Linked DNA regions of Homo sapiens: regions 1 and 3 are each linked to region 2. Evidence: promoter capture Hi-C in human tissues and cell types (Jung and others, 2019). All regions are on one chromosome and are shown on one strand. Each heading gives the region's core, a stretch centred on a gene start or on the middle of the fragment in contact. The rest is flanking DNA. Distances are from core to core; before and after follow the strand shown. Region 1 overlaps ASMER1 (adipocyte associated metabolic related lncRNA 1). Region 2 holds the start of HSPA13 (heat shock protein family A (Hsp70) member 13). Region 3 overlaps LOC105377134 (a long non-coding RNA gene).

Region 1 (2,700 bases), core at 50-2,549, 470 kb before region 2:
TTGTTTGGTTATTATATTTTGAAAAACTTTGACAGAAAAATGTTAAGAGAAAAATGCATGAAAAGTAGATCAGTCAGTTGTAAGGTACTCACTTTTAATTAAAATATATCTGATCTTTTTTCAAGTGTGGGCCTTTCATATCTAATTACACAAAGACTTATTGGCAGAGAAGAGGTAGTTGATTTTCTTTCTCTTATATTCCCTCCTCACTCACAGTATATTTTCCAGTATTTTGTGTTGGATGCCTCTTTTAAAAAACCTATACTCAAACAATTATCTGCAGAAAAGCAACTTTAAGATTATTGTAAGGTGATTATACTAATGGATCTAATTTTCCATGCCTCATGCCTTTCTATTTCATGCCCTTTGGTAGTGACCTCCCCATTCTTATTCTAAGTTGGCTACATGACGAGAACAATGGGATTTTAGTGGAACTGATGCAAGCAGAAGCCTGAAATGTGTTTCTGCATTTCTGCTTTCTTTTGTAGACTCCTGCCCCTGCCACGAGAACACACCCTTTCCAGTTTGCTGGAGAAATATAAGAGAAGTCCAGTGAAAGAGAGCTGAGTTTCCCCAATGATGCCATCAAGATGAACTAACTACAGTTAACCAGCCAGCTGATAGCAGATGCATGAGTGAGCCCAGCTGAGAGCAGGTGAGCATGGCCCAGAGCAGCAGAGCTGCTGAGCCAGTCCCTGAGTTGAAACAAAATAATAAGTGGTTATCTTCATCCATTAAGCTTAATTTGTTGTACAGCAATAGTGTATCGATACAGGATCATTTGTTCCAGAATTCCCATATTAGAGATGAGAATACTGAGGCTGGGGATCTACATTTTCCCCAACTTAACAGAGCTACCAAACTCCCCAGATTTTAGAGTTGACAACTCTACTTATAAGTTATATAAAAGTCAGAGCACCTAATTATTGACAAACTTCTCAATCCTTACCAGCTAGTTCCAGATGATAATGTGTAAACAATATTTCCTGGAATTATTTTGATTAGTATTACACTTAAGGTTAAAGATTTTGTCAAGCCTAAGCATTACAGAAATTGTCATTCATGTGAAGTTATTCTCTTGTGCAATAGAAAAGCTTCATTTAGTGTGCTGAGTTTGTAGCTGCATTTGATGCTTAATGGGGTTAGCCCCGTGAAGCATATTGCAAGTGTCCTCTAGAGACTGGACTGGTTTCCAATTGATTTCAAGTTGCAGTTCAAATTGTTGTCTTTCACAAATAGCAACTACATTGTGTCAATTGACGACCTCGCAAAAACTACTGTAAATAAAATCTTAAACTTTGAAACTACAGTAAAGGTTACTCTGTAATGTACGTGAGACAAGCAATCATGAATTAGGAGGGTTTCCTTTCAATTATGAGTCAAGCTTCAGGATCCAAAATATAGAGCTTTTTACTGAATTATAGCTCATGGCATTGTATTTGGATTGAGAAGTGTAGAGATTCAGAATGATTTTCTCTTCTAATAGTTTGCTGTTTAATGGGAATTTTTTTATTAAGCATAAATCTCATTTTCTTTAAAATACTTTAATATCCTAGTATAGTAGATTTTTAACAGTCTAAAAGTTTTAAGCTTTTTTTATTTTGGTCTTGGAGATAGACAATAATTAACGCTCCTTAAATGCATTTTTCTTTCTTCTGATGATGACTTGCCTTTGAGGACCCGGTTCAAAACATACAGCACTGAACTGATCCACTCTGATTTTCATTTATTTATTAAGTATTTGCCTTTGTGCCAGTTTTGCAGTGTCATCAATTGGCTACAATAAATCTATATGTGCTCTGAAGAAAGTTGATTTCTTTAGTCTTCCTCTCCCAGACTGTTATTTTTTCTGTGTGATAAGCTTTAAAGGACTTAAAGGGATAAAATGTAAAGAAATTGTTTTGAGCAGAAAAGATATGCCTAATAGTTTAAAGATCTATGTTCTTCTGTTACCCAAATTCAAAACAACAATATGGCTATCGTTGTGATTATTATATTATTCTTAGGCATAAGTTATTGAGTCTTTCCATGAGAGAGCAATTCATCTTAACATAGTCTAAATCTAATAACAATATTCAAGTCTTTATTTCAGATCACTTTTCCCTCCTGATTATATATCTTTCTCCTCAAATGTTGATATTCATTAGGAAGAAGAGACCAAAGACATAGAGTTCTTTAATAAGAAAGTGATAAACTTCTGTTAGGTATAACTCACCTTACACAAAGGGTGGATTTCTGTAAACTAAGGTAGAAATTAGATTTTGTGTGTGTGAATGGAGAAATCTGTAAACACATTTTGGGGACATATTAATGTCTAGATTCTAGAGCAGCTCCCTTTAAAAATAAATATCTCTTACAAAATTTCATTCTTAAATATCAAAAAAATTGAATCTACATTTTATTATTGCCAAAACCATTTACTCCAACACTTTAATTTTCCTTTTTCTCACTATTCTTGAACCTATTAAAAGAGGAAAAAGCAAACATGTTGGAACAACATAAAAAATAAAGAAAAACAAAAACAAAAATCCCGAAGAAACAAAATGTCTAGTGTCTTAATTATATGCTGCTATGTAATAAATTACCCCAAACTAAATGACTTAAAACAGCATACTGAGTATCTCACAGTTTCTGTGGGCTGGGAATGTAGGTAAAACTTAATTGGATTTTCTGCTTAGGATCTTCCACAGGCTACAATCA
Region 2 (2,700 bases), core at 192-2,691:
CTCAGAATTCTACCTCATGCTTTATGATCCACCACTTTCTAATCTATGGAATAGATGATCTCTTGCTTCTGTGCTCTTGGTAATTGAGTTCCGTCTGCCTGGAACACCTCCAGCCCACTGCCCATTACAAGTAATACTTAAGAACTAAGTGCTTGAATTCTTCACTCCTTATAAGAATCTTATTGAACAGCACTCACTATAGACACACACTTTTTATATTTCGCATTATGAAATACTTAAAAATGCGCAAAAGTAGAGAGAACATTACAATGGATCCCTATCAACCAGAATTCAGCTTCCATAATCAAAATTCACATTGATAAGTCAGAAATAACCAGCAATGTATTCCCACAGCAGGCTGACGTGTTGTCAACAGGGATGGTTTGATTTATATCTAAGCTGAGAAAATGGATTCAATTCTCCAGGATCTTAGTTATCGTGAACTCTAACAGCAAAAATGACAAAACCACTCTCAGAGGAGTCATTAAGTGCTACCAGTGACCAAGATGCGAGAAAAATCCTACTTCAGACTAGAACCTGAACAGCATGTCACAAGCGTCCTAAAATGGCTGTCACGTTACAGGACTTGCCCATAAGGTCAATTTTGGCCACTTAAGACTTACTTGAAGAGAGAGCTAAGGGTTTTCTTTTTAATTTCGTTTTTGTTTTTGTTTTTAATGGCCCACGTCAGTGCTAGCAATAGAGAAAATGTGTCCCTGATCCCTTGGATAAATCGAATTGACTGAAGAATGCTTGAATTCATTTATCCCAAAACAAAGGCAGACGGCTGAGGGTCACTGGAGTTTCAGGGCTGCTCCCAGCGTTGGAGCACGGACGCCAGAGCCGACTTCCCTCAGGCCCCGCACTGCGGCAGGGACCCTTCTACGGAGGATGGCTGGGGCTCCGGGAGGCTATAGGAACGCCATCTAGAAGCTAGATCTCAGGCAAACGAACGCGCTTTAAAAGGAATTAAAACGAAAGAACACAAACTCGAATCCTGGACCTGATTAGGGGCACGACCAAAGAAAGAAATAACTAACGGTTCTCACCCTCCCTTTCATTCCCTCCCGCGGAAAGAGAAAGGCTGGAACTCCGCTTCCCAGAATGCAAAGCGCGGGGCGGGGCTAAAGAGATAGCCTGTTTTCCCTCAAGTAGGATCGCGGGACCACAGGTTTGATTATAAACGCCAGTCTCTCGCCACGGCGCTCCTCCCCCTCAGTCTCACTGGTCCTGCCGGCCGTTGCGTGGAAGGGGGACTCAGTCGTCACTGGCAGCGGTTGAATGGAGGCTCTTTGCCCCGCGCCCTCACGGTAGATGAAGTCCTTGCTTTGGTCAGAGCGATAGCTTCTCCGATTGCCTCAGAGCAAGCGGACTACATTTCCCAGGGGGCTGCGGGACTGCCGGGAGGAGTGGGGGCGGTGCCTCACGTCTGGTACAGTCATCACAAGCCTGTTCGGCGGGACTGTGATGGCCAGAGAGATGACGATCTTAGGTGGGTTCCCGGGGGTCCTTGTTGCTCTTGCGGGCGTAGAGGCGATCTGAGGATGCCAGAGTGGGCAGGGGTGGTTGACTCACCTCCTGGATCTAGCTGGAGCAGCGGAAGGGGAGTCAGAAAGGTGACTTAGAGACGGTTTTCGGCTGTTCGGAGTGGATGGGGGCGGGGACGCCTCTAGGAGGGCCCCGGCCCCTGCAGGCCAAGGTAGGATAGACGGCGACCAGCTGTGTCCATCCCAGGGACATCAGGCTTAGGGAGGCGTTCCTTTCAACAGCACCTAGGTTTTTGAATTGCCTGTTGAATTGGGGCAAGCTATGGAAGGCTGCGAGAACGTGCACCTCCAGGACCCCTTTGTGGAGGAAGGGGGAGGAGCTACATCCGGATCTGTCGGCTCAGGGATGCTGAATTTGGAGGCTTTTTCCATCACATCGGGTTTGGAATTACCTATCCCCCACCCACACACACACCCACCCCGCGTCTCCAAGGTGATGAAATGCTTCTGAAATGTTGCCTGTAGCTGGAAGTGGAAAGTGGGATTCGCACTTGGTTTTATTTCTTTGAGTTATGTGTTGATGAGGATGAGCTAACAATTAGTAACACAGAGCCCTGAAAATTCATGTTTTGGGTCATATGTAATATGAGCGGACACAGGTGTATAACACAGCCTCCTGATACCAAATACGAGATTCATTAAAAACTAAAGGGGCATCTTTCTTCGCTTATGTTTACAATCTGCGTGGCATTTGTTCCTACTCTTTTTTCTTTTTTTTTTAAATTAGTATTTGTTGGGCATCTGCTATTCCTGGTCTGGGGGATACAACAGTGAACGAAACTTGTCTTCAAGAAGCTTTCATAGATGTTGCCGTCAGGGTTGCCCACCTTTATGCTTCTTCTCCCCTAAATATTACCACTGCAAGAAGGAAGTCCCTAGTTCATACTTAAATACATAAAAAGTTAACTGTGTTCTGTTTTGAAGTGACAGTTTCATATCTAAGGAACTTTCAAAATCATTTTATCCCATTTATTCATTTCATCCTTTTGAAAGGGAAAAGGAGGTGAGATACGAGGAGAGAATTTTAGACTTATAAAATAATAAAGTTTTTCTTGTGAGAATTTTAATAATGGAGCTTTTAAAAAAAGATAATCGAAGCTTTTTATAAAGCTGTAAAATCTAAATATCAATTGATCAAGAATATTAGATTATA
Region 3 (2,700 bases), core at 77-2,576, 350 kb after region 2:
GCTGTTGAAATTCATTTACATAAGGCAGAGTTTTTGAGAAATCTCTCCAAGCAGTGGCTCTTCTCTTGCAGTCCCTGTCCCACCAGGAGCTCTCTATGTGCCCACCTAGTAGGCATCTTTGCTCTTACATATTATTCCTTTCCCAGACTTGTGGTTTTGACACCTAAATGGAATGAAAGACGTAAAAGGAAGAGAATGCGACTGCAAGGATGAGAAAGGAAGAAAGAACGTGTGCATTACACATGAATATAAGATAAATGCTTTCACCTAATATCTCATTTGATTATTTCCATTATATTTATGCAATATTATAGTGTTTTTCACTTCAAAAATCACAAAATTAAAGATCAGATAACTTATCTATGTTTCCCAAAATCAACAGGGTTGACAAATGAGAGCTCACGGACTAGAACTCATTTGTTGTGTTATTTTTCCCCTAATATTCCACAGCAAACATTTTTTCTCCTGTATTATATTGCCACATTTTTTACACTCAATATGACCTCCTTCTCTTTCTCTCTTACTTTCATTCCTCATTTCACCCAAGCTCCACTTTTGCAAATTAAGGTGACGTGAGAAAATGCTGGGCAAGCTTCAGATTCAAATTAAGACTGATATGATTTGGCTCTGTGTCCCCACCCAAATCTCATCTTGAATTGTACTTCCATAGTTCCCACGTGTTGTGGGAGATAACTGAATCACCGGGGCGACTTCCCGCATACTGTTCTCGTGGTAGTGAATCAGTCTCACAAAATCTGATGGTTTTATAAGGGGTTTCCACTTTTGCTTCTCTCTCATTCTCTCTTGCCTCTGCCATGTGAGAAGTGCCTTTTGCCTTCTGCCGTGATTGTGAGGCCTCCCCAGCATGTGAAACTGTGAATCCATTCAACCTATTTTTCTTCCCAGTCTCGGGTATGTCTTTATTAGCAGCATGAAAAAAGACTAATACAAAGACTTAGCTTGTAATTCAAGAGTGTACTATCTTAGTCCCTTTATTCTTTCATCCTGATGGGAAACATTAATGTTCAGATTCCATACAAGTATGTCTGAAGTATTGCAAAGCAGTATGAAAAGACATTATGTGGCAATCCAACCAGATTCAATAATTAATAAAAATGGGGGCTCTATTTATAAAAGCAGAATATTTAAAGTGGGATAAAGAGTAAGTTCTACCTTCTTCCCTACAGGTCTGGCCATGCCTGAGAATGATGCTGTGTTAAGAATCTCTCTTTAAGATGAAAAGAGACAACTTAGCATCTAGTGAAAAATGACCAGGTAAGTTAAGACTTGGAAGCCATGTTATATATGAGAAAAATAATATAATAATAATAAATAGCCTGGGATTTTTAAGCTATAAGAGAAATGTCATGAAAATTAAAAATAAGTATCTTAAAGTATGTAAAAGGACCTAATGTGGGAGAGGGAATCGACTTGTTATGTTAAACCAAAGGATATACCATGAAATAAGGGGGTGAGAACACAAACATACTAAGGTGTCTCAGAGGTCTAAAGATCTTTCATCAAGTGGAGAGCTCCCTGTCCCCACAGACAGTCAAGCAGAGACTAAACTAGCATTCAACCCTTCTATTGCAGAAGCGAATTTAAGCATCAGAAGGTAGCTGCACTAGATAACCGGTAGATGTTTCTTTCAACACTGAGCTTCTAGGGCTCTTTACTGCCCTTACTACCTTTATGATATGTTGTGGCAGGAATTCTTCCCAGCATAGGGTTGGAAAAATTGCTTAAAGTATTTATAGCCACTGCCAATTACTTAGGAGCATCCTGCACACAGTACTTGCCCAATAATTTTTAAGTCAAAATGCTAAATTTAATTTATGCCACAATAACAGTTCCCTGCATGAGGCGCAAATGTTCTATATAGTGTTCTATATAGAATATAGTACATAAACTTTCAGGGAAAAAAATCACTTAGTTACATGACAGCAGAATGAGCTGTCTAATGGGACTCTCTTTAGCTGAGCTGTGACCACCTGCCAGTCCTAGGTGAAAATGTGCTCTTATTCACAAAAAGACCACAAACCTAGTGAGTTTCTCAGCATGCCAAGAACCTGGTAAATTAGTTCTGAATATTGAGGACTTGCATTTCCTTCATTTGCCTATCACTTAAACTTTCTTCTGTCACACTGTAAAACTAGGGAAAAAATAGACTTTCTCCAGTATCTCAGTTCCCACTGGGCTGAGATCAGGAGAAAAGTAAATAGCAAGGTGAGGGGGAATGATACTTAAGACAGAACTCTGAATGTAGCAGGAGGAGGAAAAACCAGTTCTTCCCAATTTAAAAATTTTTTAACGTGTAATTTCCTTCTTTTTACTTGCAGGCAGTTTTCGGAAGGTGCACATTTACCTTCCAGGGTAAATGTAAAGCTTGAAGCTGCAGCTCTGCACTGAAGCTACTGTTATTGTGGCATAAATTAAATAAGAGGAAAATGCAGATTCATTTGCTTTTCTCCTGGAATAAGACCCCAGTGCTCCTCCAAGTTTATATAAAAGGCTGAGGAATCTGTGGTACAAATACTTTAATTAGCTGACAGCATGTGCGATGAATTACATTTGATTTCTGTCTAAGATGCTTGTATAATAAAGGATTTAATTCATTTTTTACAGTGTAATGAATGGATAGACGAGGATATCTTAGAAATTTGTTCATTTAAAGCAATAATTGCAATATTGTACGCAAAG

What was found. Contacts are between HindIII fragments. The study calls those that stand out against the background at their distance.
Region 1: a fragment that was not itself captured here is called in contact with the fragment with the promoter of HSPA13 in region 2 in 1 of the 25 tissues and cell types used here (lymphoblastoid cells).
Region 3: a fragment that was not itself captured here is called in contact with the fragment with the promoter of HSPA13 in region 2 in 1 of the 25 tissues and cell types used here (IMR-90 fibroblasts).

Annotation. Positions count from the first base shown.
Region 1 is chr21:14,855,497-14,858,196 of GRCh38, reverse strand. It overlaps ASMER1 (adipocyte associated metabolic related lncRNA 1), which reads left to right. Exons shown (of 4, transcript NR_146322.1): 2 at 489-655. Among named protein-coding and RNA genes, the nearest start is that of ASMER1, 62 kb to the left of the region's middle. The HindIII fragment of the contact is 4,082 bases long and covers 1-2,700 here.
Region 2 is chr21:14,381,887-14,384,586 of GRCh38, reverse strand. HSPA13 (heat shock protein family A (Hsp70) member 13) reads left to right here and starts at 1,441. Exons shown (of 5, transcript NM_006948.5): 1 at 1,441-1,492. The coding sequence starts at 1,468. It overlaps LOC105369304 (a long non-coding RNA gene), which reads right to left and starts at 1,821. Exons shown (of 2, transcript XR_007067924.1): 1 at 1-1,821. RefSeq lists enhancers at 905-1,034, 1,425-1,734. The HindIII fragment of the contact is 8,875 bases long and covers 1-2,494 here.
Region 3 is chr21:14,035,733-14,038,432 of GRCh38, reverse strand. The region is part of intron 1 of LOC105377134 (a long non-coding RNA gene); the gene reads right to left. Among named protein-coding and RNA genes, the nearest start is that of LIPI, 170 kb to the left of the region's middle. The HindIII fragment of the contact is 6,023 bases long and covers 1-2,700 here.